Regions from separate parts of the Homo sapiens genome. Here regions 1, 2 and 3 are each linked to region 4. Evidence: promoter capture Hi-C in 16 types of primary human blood cells and fetal thymus (Javierre and others, 2016). All regions are on one chromosome and are shown on one strand. The core of a region is centred on a gene start or on the middle of the fragment in contact, and the rest is flanking DNA. Distances in the headings are between cores, read along the strand shown.

What was found. The method cuts DNA at HindIII sites, captures the fragments that hold promoters and counts their contacts. A CHiCAGO score of 5 or more calls a contact.
Region 1: a contact is called between a fragment that was not itself captured here and the fragment with the promoter of TBC1D8B in region 4, in 2 of 17 cell types (total CD8 T cells and naive CD4 T cells). The highest score is 5.9, in total CD8 T cells.
Region 2: a fragment that was not itself captured here is called in contact with the fragment with the promoter of TBC1D8B in region 4 in 5 of 17 cell types (total CD8 T cells, naive CD4 T cells, activated CD4 T cells and 2 more); the score reaches 8.4 in total CD8 T cells.
Region 3: a contact is called between a fragment that was not itself captured here and the fragment with the promoter of TBC1D8B in region 4, in 4 of 17 cell types (naive CD4 T cells, activated CD4 T cells, total CD8 T cells and 1 more). The highest score is 8.3, in naive CD4 T cells.

What each region holds. Positions count from the first base shown.
Region 1 is chrX:106,498,519-106,501,335 of GRCh38, reverse strand. No RefSeq gene overlaps it. Among named protein-coding and RNA genes, the nearest start is that of RADX, 110 kb to the left of the region's middle. The HindIII fragment of the contact is 1,247 bases long and covers 712-1,958 here.
Region 2 is chrX:106,461,555-106,464,471 of GRCh38, reverse strand. No RefSeq gene overlaps it. Among named protein-coding and RNA genes, the nearest start is that of RADX, 150 kb to the left of the region's middle. The HindIII fragment of the contact is 4,432 bases long and covers 1-2,917 here.
Region 3 is chrX:106,413,547-106,416,246 of GRCh38, reverse strand. No RefSeq gene overlaps it. Among named protein-coding and RNA genes, the nearest start is that of RADX, 200 kb to the left of the region's middle. The HindIII fragment of the contact is 890 bases long and covers 856-1,745 here.
Region 4 is chrX:106,801,203-106,804,164 of GRCh38, reverse strand. TBC1D8B (TBC1 domain family member 8B) reads right to left here and starts at 1,492. Exons shown (of 21, transcript NM_017752.3): 1 at 1,182-1,492. The coding sequence starts at 1,311. The HindIII fragment of the contact is 5,023 bases long and covers 1-2,962 here.

The sequences.
Region 1 (2,817 bases), core at 86-2,585, 300 kb after region 4:
TTCCATCATATGAATTGACCACATTTCATTTAGCCATTCATCAGTTGGTGAACCTTTGAGAGGTTTCCAATATTGGACTATTATAAATAATGCTGCTATTTTCATTCCTGTACAGGTTTTTATGTGGACATATGTTCTTATTTCTCTGAGATATGTAACTAAAAGTTGAATTTCTGAGTCATAGGATAACTCAATGTTTAACTATTTGAGAAACTGCCAAAGAATTTCCAATATTTCTGCATAATTTTACAGTCTTATCTGTGATGTATGAAACTTTCATTTTCTTCACATCCTCACCAACACTTGTTATTGGCTATTTTTTTATTATACCCAATCTAGTGGTTGTAAATTACTATCTCATTGCGGTTTGGGTTGTCATATACCTAATGACTAATGATGTTAGAAGTTATATCCTGTGCTTATCAGCCATTCATATATCTTCTTTGGATAAACGCCAATTCAAATATTTAGCCCATTTCAAAAATTAGCTTGTTTGTCTTCTTAGTATTTACGTTTTCTCTTGTCATTGTTATAACAGTTATAATTGAATTTGTGAAATTCAGTGGGAAAACAAGAACAAACTAAACATAAAGCAAGCAGAAAGGAAATAAAGATTCGAATGGGCATAAACAAATAGAGAATAGAAGAAAAAGAGATAATCAATGAATCAAAATTTAGTTCTTTGAAAAGATCAACAAAATTGACAAAGCTTTAGGTATACTGACCAAGAAAAAGAGATATTAAATTCAAACCACTAAAATCATGAATAAGAAAGGGGGCACTACTAATAAAAAAAAACCCTACAGAAATAAAAATAATTACAAAGAAATTCTATAAACAATTTATGTCAATAAATTGGTTATCCTAGAGCAAATGAGAAATTTCCTAGAAAGACACAAAATACTAAAAACTACTCAATAATAAATAGAAAATCTGAGAATACTTGTAATAATTAAAGTGACTGAATTAGTAATTTTTAAATCCCTTTAAAAATAACCCAGCCCTTGATGGCTTCCTGTGAACTCTGTCCAATATTTAAAAAACAAAATAATACAAATTCTTCACAAAATCTCTCAAAAAATACAAGAGGAAGGAATATTTCCCAAGTCATTCTGTGAGGCCAGGATTATCCTAATACCAAAACCAGACAAAGATATCACACATAAGGAAAAGTACAGATTAATGTCTCTTAAGAAGACAGATGAAAGAAATGCTTAACAAAATGCTAGCAAACCTAACCCAACACATGAAAAGGATTTCATATCATGACTAAATTAGATTTATCCCAGGAATGCAAGGTTTGTTTAACACATGAATATCAATTACAGTCACACATCACTTAACAGCAGGGATATGTTCTGAGAAACACATCATTAGGCGATTTTGTTGTGCCAACATCCTACACTGTACTTACACAAACCTAAATGGTATAGCCTACTACACACCTAGGCTATATGGTATAGCCTATTGTTCCTAGGCTACAAACCAGTATAGCATGTTACTGTACTGAATGCTGTAGGCAATTAAAACACAATGGTAAGTATTTGTGTATTTAAACATGTCTAAACCTAGAAAAGATACAGTAAAAATATTATCTTAAAGATAAAAAATGGTACACCTATATAAGGAACTTGCCATGAATGGAGCTTGCAGGACTAGAAGTTGCTCTGGGTGAGTCAGTAAGTGAGTGGTGAATGAATGTGAAGTCCTAGGTCATTACTGTACATTATTGTAAACTTTATAAACACTGTATACTTAGGCTACACTAAGTATATTTAAAAATATTTGTCTTTCTTCAATGATAATTTAACCTTAGCTTATCATAACATTTTTTACTTTATGAGCTTTCAATTTTTAAAAATTTTGACTCTTTTGTAATGACACTTAGCTTAAAACACAGACATATTTTACAGTTGTACAAAAATATTTTCTTTCTTTATAGCCTTATTCTATAAGCTTTTTTTCTATGTTTAAGATTTTTTAAAAAGTTTTTAAACTTTTCTTTTAGAAACTAAGACGTAAACACACACATTAGCCTAGGCCTACACAGGGTCAGACTCATCAATATGATCGTCTTTTACCTGTACATCTTGTACCACTGGAAAGTCTTCAGGAGCAATACACATGGATCTGTCATGTCTTATGATAATGATACTTTCTTCTGGAATACCTCCTGAAGGACCTGTCTGAGGCTGTTTTACAGTTACCTATTTTTTTAAGTAGAAGGAGTATACTCTAAACAATAAAAAGTATAGTACAGTAAATATGTAAACCAATGACATATATTTATTGTAATTATCAAGTACTAAGTACTGTACCTAATTGTATGTGCTATACTTTTATACTGACTAGCAGTACAGTAGGTTTATTTGCACCAGCATCAACACAAACACATGAACAATGCATTTTTCTACAAAGTTATGATGGGTATGACATCCTAGTTTGACGGGTATGACATACTAGGTAATAGGAAATATTTTAGCTCCATTATAATCTTATGGAAACATTGTAATATCTGTAGTCTGACATTGAACAAAACATTGTTACGCAGCACATGACTGTAATGTAATACACCATGTAAATAGAATAAAATACAAAAAATGCACATGAACTCAATAGACCAAGAAAAAGCATTTGAAAACTCCAACAGCCTTTTTTGATAAAAGCCCTCAAGAAACTAGGAATAAAAGAAAATGTTCTCAACCCTTACATTTGTAGTCACTGAATTGTTAATAGGAGTGCCAGGACAATTCAATGGGAGAAAAGGGTGGTCTTTTCAACAAGTAGTGTTGGCACAACTGGGTATCTGCATGTAAA
Region 2 (2,917 bases), core at 178-2,677, 340 kb after region 4:
CTCTCTCCTAGCTTTTGCCATCAAGTTGTAGTATCTTTTGGCTTGCAAATTCATCACTTTAACCTCTTCTTCTGTCTTCACAGACACAGTGTTTTCCCCTGTGTCTCTGTCTTTGTGTATCTTCTTTATAAGGACATCAGTAATGGATTAATGGCCCACCTAATCCAGTATGACCTCATCTTAAATTGATTACATCTGCAAATAAGATATTTTCAAATAAGGTCACATTCACAGGTTCTTGGGATTAGGACTTCAACATATCTTTTTGAAGGACCCAATTCAACTAAAAACAAGAAGCAAAGATTTGGTGGTGGCAGTGAAAAGTGGGTAAGGGAAAAAAAACAATTCCAGAAGGATATAAGTATTATACCATGCATATGAAGTCTAAAAACATGTAAAACAATCACTGTAATGACTGTGGTTACATACATTTATAGTAAAAGGCATACATGTCAGTGATGCATACACATGTAACATGCAGATAGGTATATATGAGAATGATAAGCACCTTAAGAGGGTGATTAGATCTTGTGGAGAAAGAGAGAGAATTTAATTGGGGAGAGGTACACAGTGGACTTCACCTCTATTTGTAATATGCTTCTAAAGTTGGGAGGTGGGTTCACAGATGTAGTATTCCTATACCTTTGTGTAAGTCTGAAATATTTCTTAACATAAAAGAACACTTAAAAGAGGAAATGGGCCTATTATCTGGAACCTGTTTAAGGAAAAAAATGAAGTTTGAGTTGGCCAGAGTAGAGGATCAGAGAAGGGGAGGGCCAGGGGTTTTAGGGTAGAAGGCCTTGTTTCTACATTTAGTTAAGACTGCCTGGATGCTTGCTAATTGGCATCAGTATCTTTATATACTATGGCAGCACATCTCATATCCTAGTGTATATTAACATTGCTTATATATGTGTATCTATTCTCCTCCACCCCTTAGAGGGTGGACATCTGAATGTTTGGGACTTTAAAGGATTTTATTTATCTATTTCTCCTGAAACACATAGCACTGTGTTTTCTTTTTAGTAGGTGTCTGAAGAGAGTCTGTTAAAACAAAGTTAACATAATGCATCCACAATCCATTTGTGTCACTACTGTTGACATTTAACAATGTATTATCACGTAGTAACACACAATGTTTCCTATGGCTATAACCAAAAAAGGCACAAGGCCTTTTGTCACCATTTTTTAAAATGAATGGGCAGTCCAAGTCAGAATTATCTATGCCGTGTCATTTGAAGGGCCTTAAATTGGCTCTGATTGGTCCATGGCATGTTGGTGAACTGTCTTTCTATCTCTCTATCTATCTACAAAAGACATGATGTTCGAAAAATTTTATTGGGTGCTATGGTTTGAATATGTCCCCTCCAAAACCAGGTGTTGCCAATGTAATGGTATTAAAAGGTGGAGCCTTTATAATGTGATTAGACCATGAGGGCTCCTCCTTCATGAATGGGAGTAGGTGCCCTTATAAGGGGCTTAATGGACAGAGTTGGTTTTCTCTTGCCCTTCTGTCTTCTGCCATGTGAAGACATAGCAAGAAAGCCCTCACTAGGTGCTGGCATCTTGGTCTTGAACTTTGCAGCCTCCAGAACTGTGAAAAAATACATTTCTGTTTTTTATAAATTACCCAGTTTCAGTTATTCTGTTATGACAGTGCAAAATGGACTAAGACATGGGAATTTACTCCATTAGACAAAAGGTATATACACAACTCTCTTAGATAAGCTCATTTGGCTTTGGACTTCTGCTAAGACTGCTTAGGGACAACACCCATAATCCTCTTAGATGGAATATTGTTTTTCTGAGGTACTTCTCCACTTCTTTTTAGGCCTTAATAATGGATTTTATAATTGCATCACTGGCTTCATCTTTATATCATATTTTCCTGGAAGGGTTCTGGATTTGATCTTTGCTTAGATGCCCTTTCTTAACTTTAGCATTATTTTCCATCTGGAGACACTGGGGGTTTTGAAAGCAGCAAATTATGTCTCCATTTTGTTTAAGCTCAAGTCTGTCCCTTAACATTCTCTTCTCACATTTTGCTATAAACAGCACCCCCTTTCCCCAAAAAAAATCCAGGCAGCACCGTCAACATTCTTTTTGGAAATACCCTTTGGTATATTCACAATCCAAATTGTGAACATGTTTTCTACTCTCCACATCATTGCACTAAATTACAAGGGATCCCTTTCCTCCAGTTTCCAATAAAGTTTTCTTTACTTTCCCTTAAGCTCTCACAGGCAACCTTCATAAAGATGGTTAGGTTTCTGATAATGGTGTGTTCCAAGAATCTTAGACTTTCATTAATACTCTCTCCAAACTCCTTCCAGCTTCAGCCCTCTGCTGGTTTTAAAGTCATTTCGCATGTTAGGTTTTGTTACTGCAGCACCCTACTCTTGGCACCAAACATCTGTTTTAATTATTATTATTATTATTTTTTGCCACATAACAAATAAGCCCTGAAATGGAGTGGCTTAAAACTACAAATAATTAATGTCTCACAGTTTCTGTAGGTCAGTTATTAAAGAGTGGTTTAGTTTTTCCTCCTGCTCCAGCCATGTAGAGCATGCCTGCTTCCCCTTCTCCTTCTGCCATGATTGTAAGTTTCCTCAGGCCTCCCTAGCCATGCTTCATGTATGACTTTGGAACCGTGAGCCAATTAAACCCCTTTTATCAACTTAAAAAATAGATAAATAAAATAATAAATAAAAAAGAGTGGTTTAGATGGATAATATCATCTTTGAGTATCTCATGAGGTTACAGTTCAGAAGTCAGTTGTGACTAAAGTCATTTGAAGGTTTGACTATATCCAGAAGGTTTGCTTCTAATCACATGGCTATGGACAGGATACCTTGATATATCATTGGCTATTGATAGTAAGTATCAGTTCTTTACCACATGGTTCTCTCTGTTG
Region 3 (2,700 bases), core at 51-2,550, 390 kb after region 4:
AAAGGGGACTGTGGAATATGAGGTGCATCTGGAATACATTATGAGCACTACTCACAGTGAGAGATAATGGAGTAAAGGGATGTTTTGGAGCAGTGTTGAGAAGTAGAGACTAGAGTTACTGACAGGATTAAGTGCCTTGTTATGAATTATTTCTATTACCACAAATGTACACTATATTGATACAATAAGTCTATATAAGAGGAAAGCCTTTGGTCAAAATTTAACATGAGCAGAGAGAACTTGGCTAAGAATGCAAGGGTATAATAATTAGGAACTGAGGGGCCTGACATGGATCCTATAACAATTGAGGGCCGGTGCAAGACTAATGCAGGTCTCTGACACTCAGAAGAGAGTCACGTTAGAAAGGAGATCTTCTCACCAAAGGCAACACATATGGCCACACAGACTGCACCCTACAAAACTGCAGGGGCTACTATTCACCTTTTGTATAGGACTCTTGTTTCTCATCCTCTGGGTGCAGGAGCAGGGGCAGGGGTGCCCAGAGGGCAGCCATCAACAGCCCCACTGAAGGGCAGAGTAGCTGGTGGCAGCTAAGACCCAAATGTAGAAGCACAAAGCCATCTATTTGTGCACTAAAATCTCCTTGCTCACAATGGTCTCTGTTCCTTGTGCTTATCCCTGAGCTTCTGAAGAAGGTTCCTTTTGAAAATATCAGCCTGGCTTACCCAGATTCAGGAAAACAATTAGATAAATAAAAAGGCTCATTTCACGATTAGATCAGGATTGCTGAGGACCCCTGGTGGCTATAAGTGATAGTGACAGCAACTCTTCCAGATGGAGATTATGAGAAACCTGACCAGGATGAGGGAAGTGAAATCACAGAGCTCAGAAGCTTTGACAGATAGGGATTCCCTACTGTTAGGGCTGCTCTGTTAACAAACAGGCATTATTATCACCTCCATATTTCAGATAAGAAAACAGATTCAGAAGCTATCTCTGATCTTCATATTTGTAGTCAAATGCCCTTTTTAGTATATTATGCTACAGCAAGTCCCTGGGATAAATCTTAGAGTAATGGAACATTTTCCCTGATCCTGCTCTTCCGTAGTAACGGAGGAACATAATTCTAAAAGATGCTACAGATACTAAAATGTAGGCTTTCACAGGCTTTGGGAGAGAGCTGTGGCCTACACAAATTGTGAATGCCTGGCAAAAGTAAAGAGAAACGCTGCAAAATCAGAATTAAAACCCAGCTATCCCTCCCTTTGTGACACTTGATCAAAATTGTTGGTGACATATTGCATACCACAGATGAAAGCAGGTTAATGCCTTCACTGTTGAACTTCTTTCTGGTTGGGTTGGCACTAGGCAACAGAGAAGGCTTTCCTGCCCTCCCAATATCTTTTCTTGAAGAAACAGTTTTCTGTGATGGTGATGGGGGTCTTTATGGCTATATAAGATATTTGTCTCTCAAATAGAATAAATGCTGGACATATTTTGAGCAAAAACAGTTTAAATTCTTCTTAGAAGGATTCACAGACAGCTGCTTTTGGCTTAAATTGTCAGAAATTTTTAGACATTCAGGGGACCACAGAATCTCTGAAATAACATCCCATATGGAGCACAGTTTTCTTTATCATATCCCTAACAAGTGACCATTCAATCTCTGTATGAACAGCTCTATTAACAAGTAAAAATCTGACTCCTTCCAAAGACAGGCCATTGCATTTTTAGATCTATTACAAACATGAACCCCCCTGCAGGAATTCTATGCCAGCCAAGCTTAGATAGCCCAATAAGTGAGTACATATGGTCCACCTTGAAGGTTGTAATAAGACTCCCTGGAAACTATGAAATTGTTCATTTTACATACTTTTCCTTAGAAGCAGAGTGAAAGTTGCACAGTAAGCAGGTAAGCAGAAGGAAGAATTCCTATAAAGATTCACTTTTGGCCAGGCCCGGTGGCTCACACCTGTAATCCCAGCGCGGTGGGAGGTCGAGGCGGGAGGATTCCTTGGGCTCAGGAGTTCAAGACCAGCCTGGGCAACGTGGTGAAACTCCGTCTCTACAATTTTTTTTTTAATAGCTGGGTATAGTAGCATGCACCTGTAGTCTCAGTTACTCCAGAGGCTGAGGTGGGAGGATTGCTTTGAGCCTGGGAAGCTGAGGTTGCAGTGATCCGAGATCCCACCACTGCACTCTAGTCAGGGCAACAGAATGAGACCCTGTCTCAAAAACAAACAAATAAATTCACTTTTATTCTCCTTTCTGTTAGAAAGTCACGTGAAAGCACATTTCTCTAGCCTTAAAGTTCAGCTGCCACTAGCATTTTATTCCTGTGGAAAATATTTCTTTCAGGTCCCATGGGATAAGGGACATATAAAACCATAGCCTTCCATGTATGACAAAGACAATTGGAAATGGCTTCCAGGTATCAGGTTGCTCCAATAAATTCATTTGTTAACAAATGTATTTTTATTTATTAGGAATGAAATGGGTAACATCTTTATAAAATAGTCTTTCATGGAAAGTTTGAGCAAAAGGCATTCTAAAGGCTAGAGTCTAAAGGCCCATCCCCTTGTCTCAATTTATTTTGTTCCTGCCCAGGGTTAAGACTCCATTACCTCTAATTTTGATCATTATAATAGCCTTCTTCCTCTCTGATATTCTGCATTTTCACTATGATGTATGTAGGTACAGATTTCTTTTTATTTATCCTGTCTAGGATTCACTGGGTTT
Region 4 (2,962 bases), core at 243-2,742:
TCCTCCATGAATTATAACTTGCCTAGTTTACTAGGTGGTTTTCTTTTTCCTTTAGACCTTCCCACCCTTCTTATCCAGATTATAAGCACTGCAAAGCCAAGAAACTGAATCTTGTGAACCTTGTGGCACACAGTAGGTGCTTAAGGTTGAGTAAATGAAAGAGTTTGAGGAATGTCATCCAACAAGTAAGAGAGTAGGATGGGACTAAAATGCAGGTTTTCGGGACTCTTCCCTCTTTCCATTACATCACGCTGCCTGGTCTACCACTTCAAGGTCACAATACCAAATTAGAGATTGATTAGAAAAAGAGCTCTTGCTTTCCCAACGTCCAAAACTTTAAATATCCCTACCCAAGATGAGTGGTCTCAAAATAACTTTCTCTGGAAACTTTAAACATTTGGCCAAAAAACACTTTTTAAGAATTGGGGTCAGGGTGGGTTAGACAGGAAGAGTTAAACTCTTACCGTCTGGCTTACAATCACAGCTTTGAATGAAGGGGCAGCACCAGTCACTCAAGAGATTAATTTATTACGACGTTGTTAATAGCCTTTGAGAGGGGATCCCAAAGATTGAAAACTTGGAGACAAAGTAAAAGATGCTAAATTGGGAGAGATCAGCAATTCTGAGCCTACCCCTCCACCTCTCCTGACTCCAGTTCTCCCTCCTCCCTAATATTTCTTTTGAAGTCTATTTCTCAGGATGTGATTGGGCGCCTCCCTTTCTCCTCACCATCCCCGCGTACCCACTCCATCCCATCCCCCATACGCTTAATCTCCCCAGGGTGCTGATGATCGGTATGGGTTCTGTGAAAAAAGTTAAGTTCACAACTGCGAACTGGCCCCTGTCACCAGCCTAAATGCGACCTGTCTAGGTCTAACACTCATCATCAGCCTCCCTCCCCCCATGGGAAGCGACAAGGTAGGTACCCGTTTCTTCCTTGGCCTCAGAAAGAACCGCGCTCCTCCCTTCACCTGTCCCAACCAAAGAGCAACTCGTCGTCCAGTGAGACATTCTCAGGACTTGGAGGTGGTGGCGGAAAGGTGGTGTCGGGAGAAGAACCCCAGTCCCTCCGCCCACGATTTAGGATCGGGAAACTGGTAGCGACGAGTAACTGTTGTCCTCACCACCTTTTAAGTAACAGCGAACACAGCCCAGAGGCAGGTAGGGTGGCCACAGCTTACCTGTGAGCCCCCCTCCGCCTTCCTCCCCGTAGCCCCGACGCCGCTGCAGCACGAAGTAGTCGTTGGACCTTTCCATCAGCCACAGCTTCAGCGCATTTTTCAGAAGCACTTCCTCAGGCTTCAGCCACATCGCGAACTTTGTGCCCCCCGGGAGCAGTGACCTAGATGCCCTCCTCACCTCACTCTCAACCCGTCTCTTCCCCTCTGCTTCTCCTCCCACCAAATCTTCCTCAGGCGACAGCAGCTCAGGTTCAGGTTTTCCACACTTCCCCCAACCCTCCCTTCTCTCCCACGTAGGCAGAGAGATTGCCAATTCCCTCCCACAGCGCTACCGCCAGACTGGGAAATAGTCCCGCTTCTTTACCTCTTGGGAGTTGTAGTTTCCTACGCGCTTTTCTGTGCTCAAGCGACTGGAACATGGGACTACCCTTCCCACAATACACTGGGGTGAGAATGGGTGGGGGTGCTTTCAAAGCGGGTCCCAGCCATCAGTTAAGTGTGTTTTGCCTATCTGAAGTTTAAAGCATTTTTTTGGTTCAAATAAGTGAGTCCCAGGTGTAAAGGTGTTGCTTCTTTTTATCATTTTACAGCCGAAGGCATTAAACTGTAGAAAACAAAGTTTCTGGAATTTTGGAATATCGGTTCATTCCAGGAAGTAGCAGTAGCAACAACTAACATTTAATGAGCTCTCACTATAGACTCAGGCGATCTCACGTAATCCTCACAGCAGTCTTGCGAAGTGGACATTCGTCCCCGCTTTGCACATTAATAAAGGAAAGCACTGTCGGGTGAGGCGACTTATCCAAGGTCACACAGTCAGTGATACGATTCCTTCTCTAAATCCAAAATTCATGCCTAGATTAAGCTCTTTTTGGTTATATAGGAAGAATATAAAATTTCCAGAAGCCACGCGTTTTCTTCACTCCGTGCACCGCTCCTTTCCTTCACTGTCGCCCCTATCTGTTTATTAAACTGCTGTAATGAACCACAGAAAATCTCTTGTCCAGCTTCCTATTTTGGAATCTAAACAATTTATGTGCATTTTTTTTTTTCTTAAACTCTTAAAAAAATCCCTTTGGAAGCAAACTTGATCTCTTTGTATCTTGGCAATGATGCGCAGCGGTTTGAACACTAAGGTGAATGAGGTCAATAATTTGCATGATATCGCTGTGAGGAAATATTTGACAGATGTTTTTATTTATTGCAATAACTAAGTCCACCGGAATTAAAGAGTGCATTAAAAGTGAAAAAAAGTTTAGAGGGAGGAAGGAGTTGGGAGGCCATGTATAAGCAAAGGGCTCTTGGCAAGCTGTTTTGAGAATAGAGCCTCAAAGTCATGTGGATTAAAAAAAAATGGGGTGGGGCACACGCAGATGCCAAGCCAAGGAACTCTGCCCTGGAGGAGCATCTCTGGGGTAACCTTCCAAGATGTGTGCCATCTCGAGTGAGGCAGGCGTGTGCTCCAAGCAGGGATTTTTCTTGTGAATGAGAAAAGGGGCAATCTGGGATTCTCTTCTACTAAATGGCAGTAAGTAGTCCCAAGGCAGCTATCTGGACAGTTTGGAAAGAGATAATCCTTTCAGAGTCCAGACTGCAATGTATCTTTGGGAAAAGCCATCGCAATTTGAATGTGTACTAAGGGAGGTAATTTCTTCTTCTCTTCCTGGAGAAAGATCAGTAAATGTAGCAAACGTTGAGAGATATCTTCCTTTCTTTTTACCTTTCCTTCCCCTTTTTACTTCCTTCCCCATCAAACCACATCCTTTTCCAATACCCTTAAA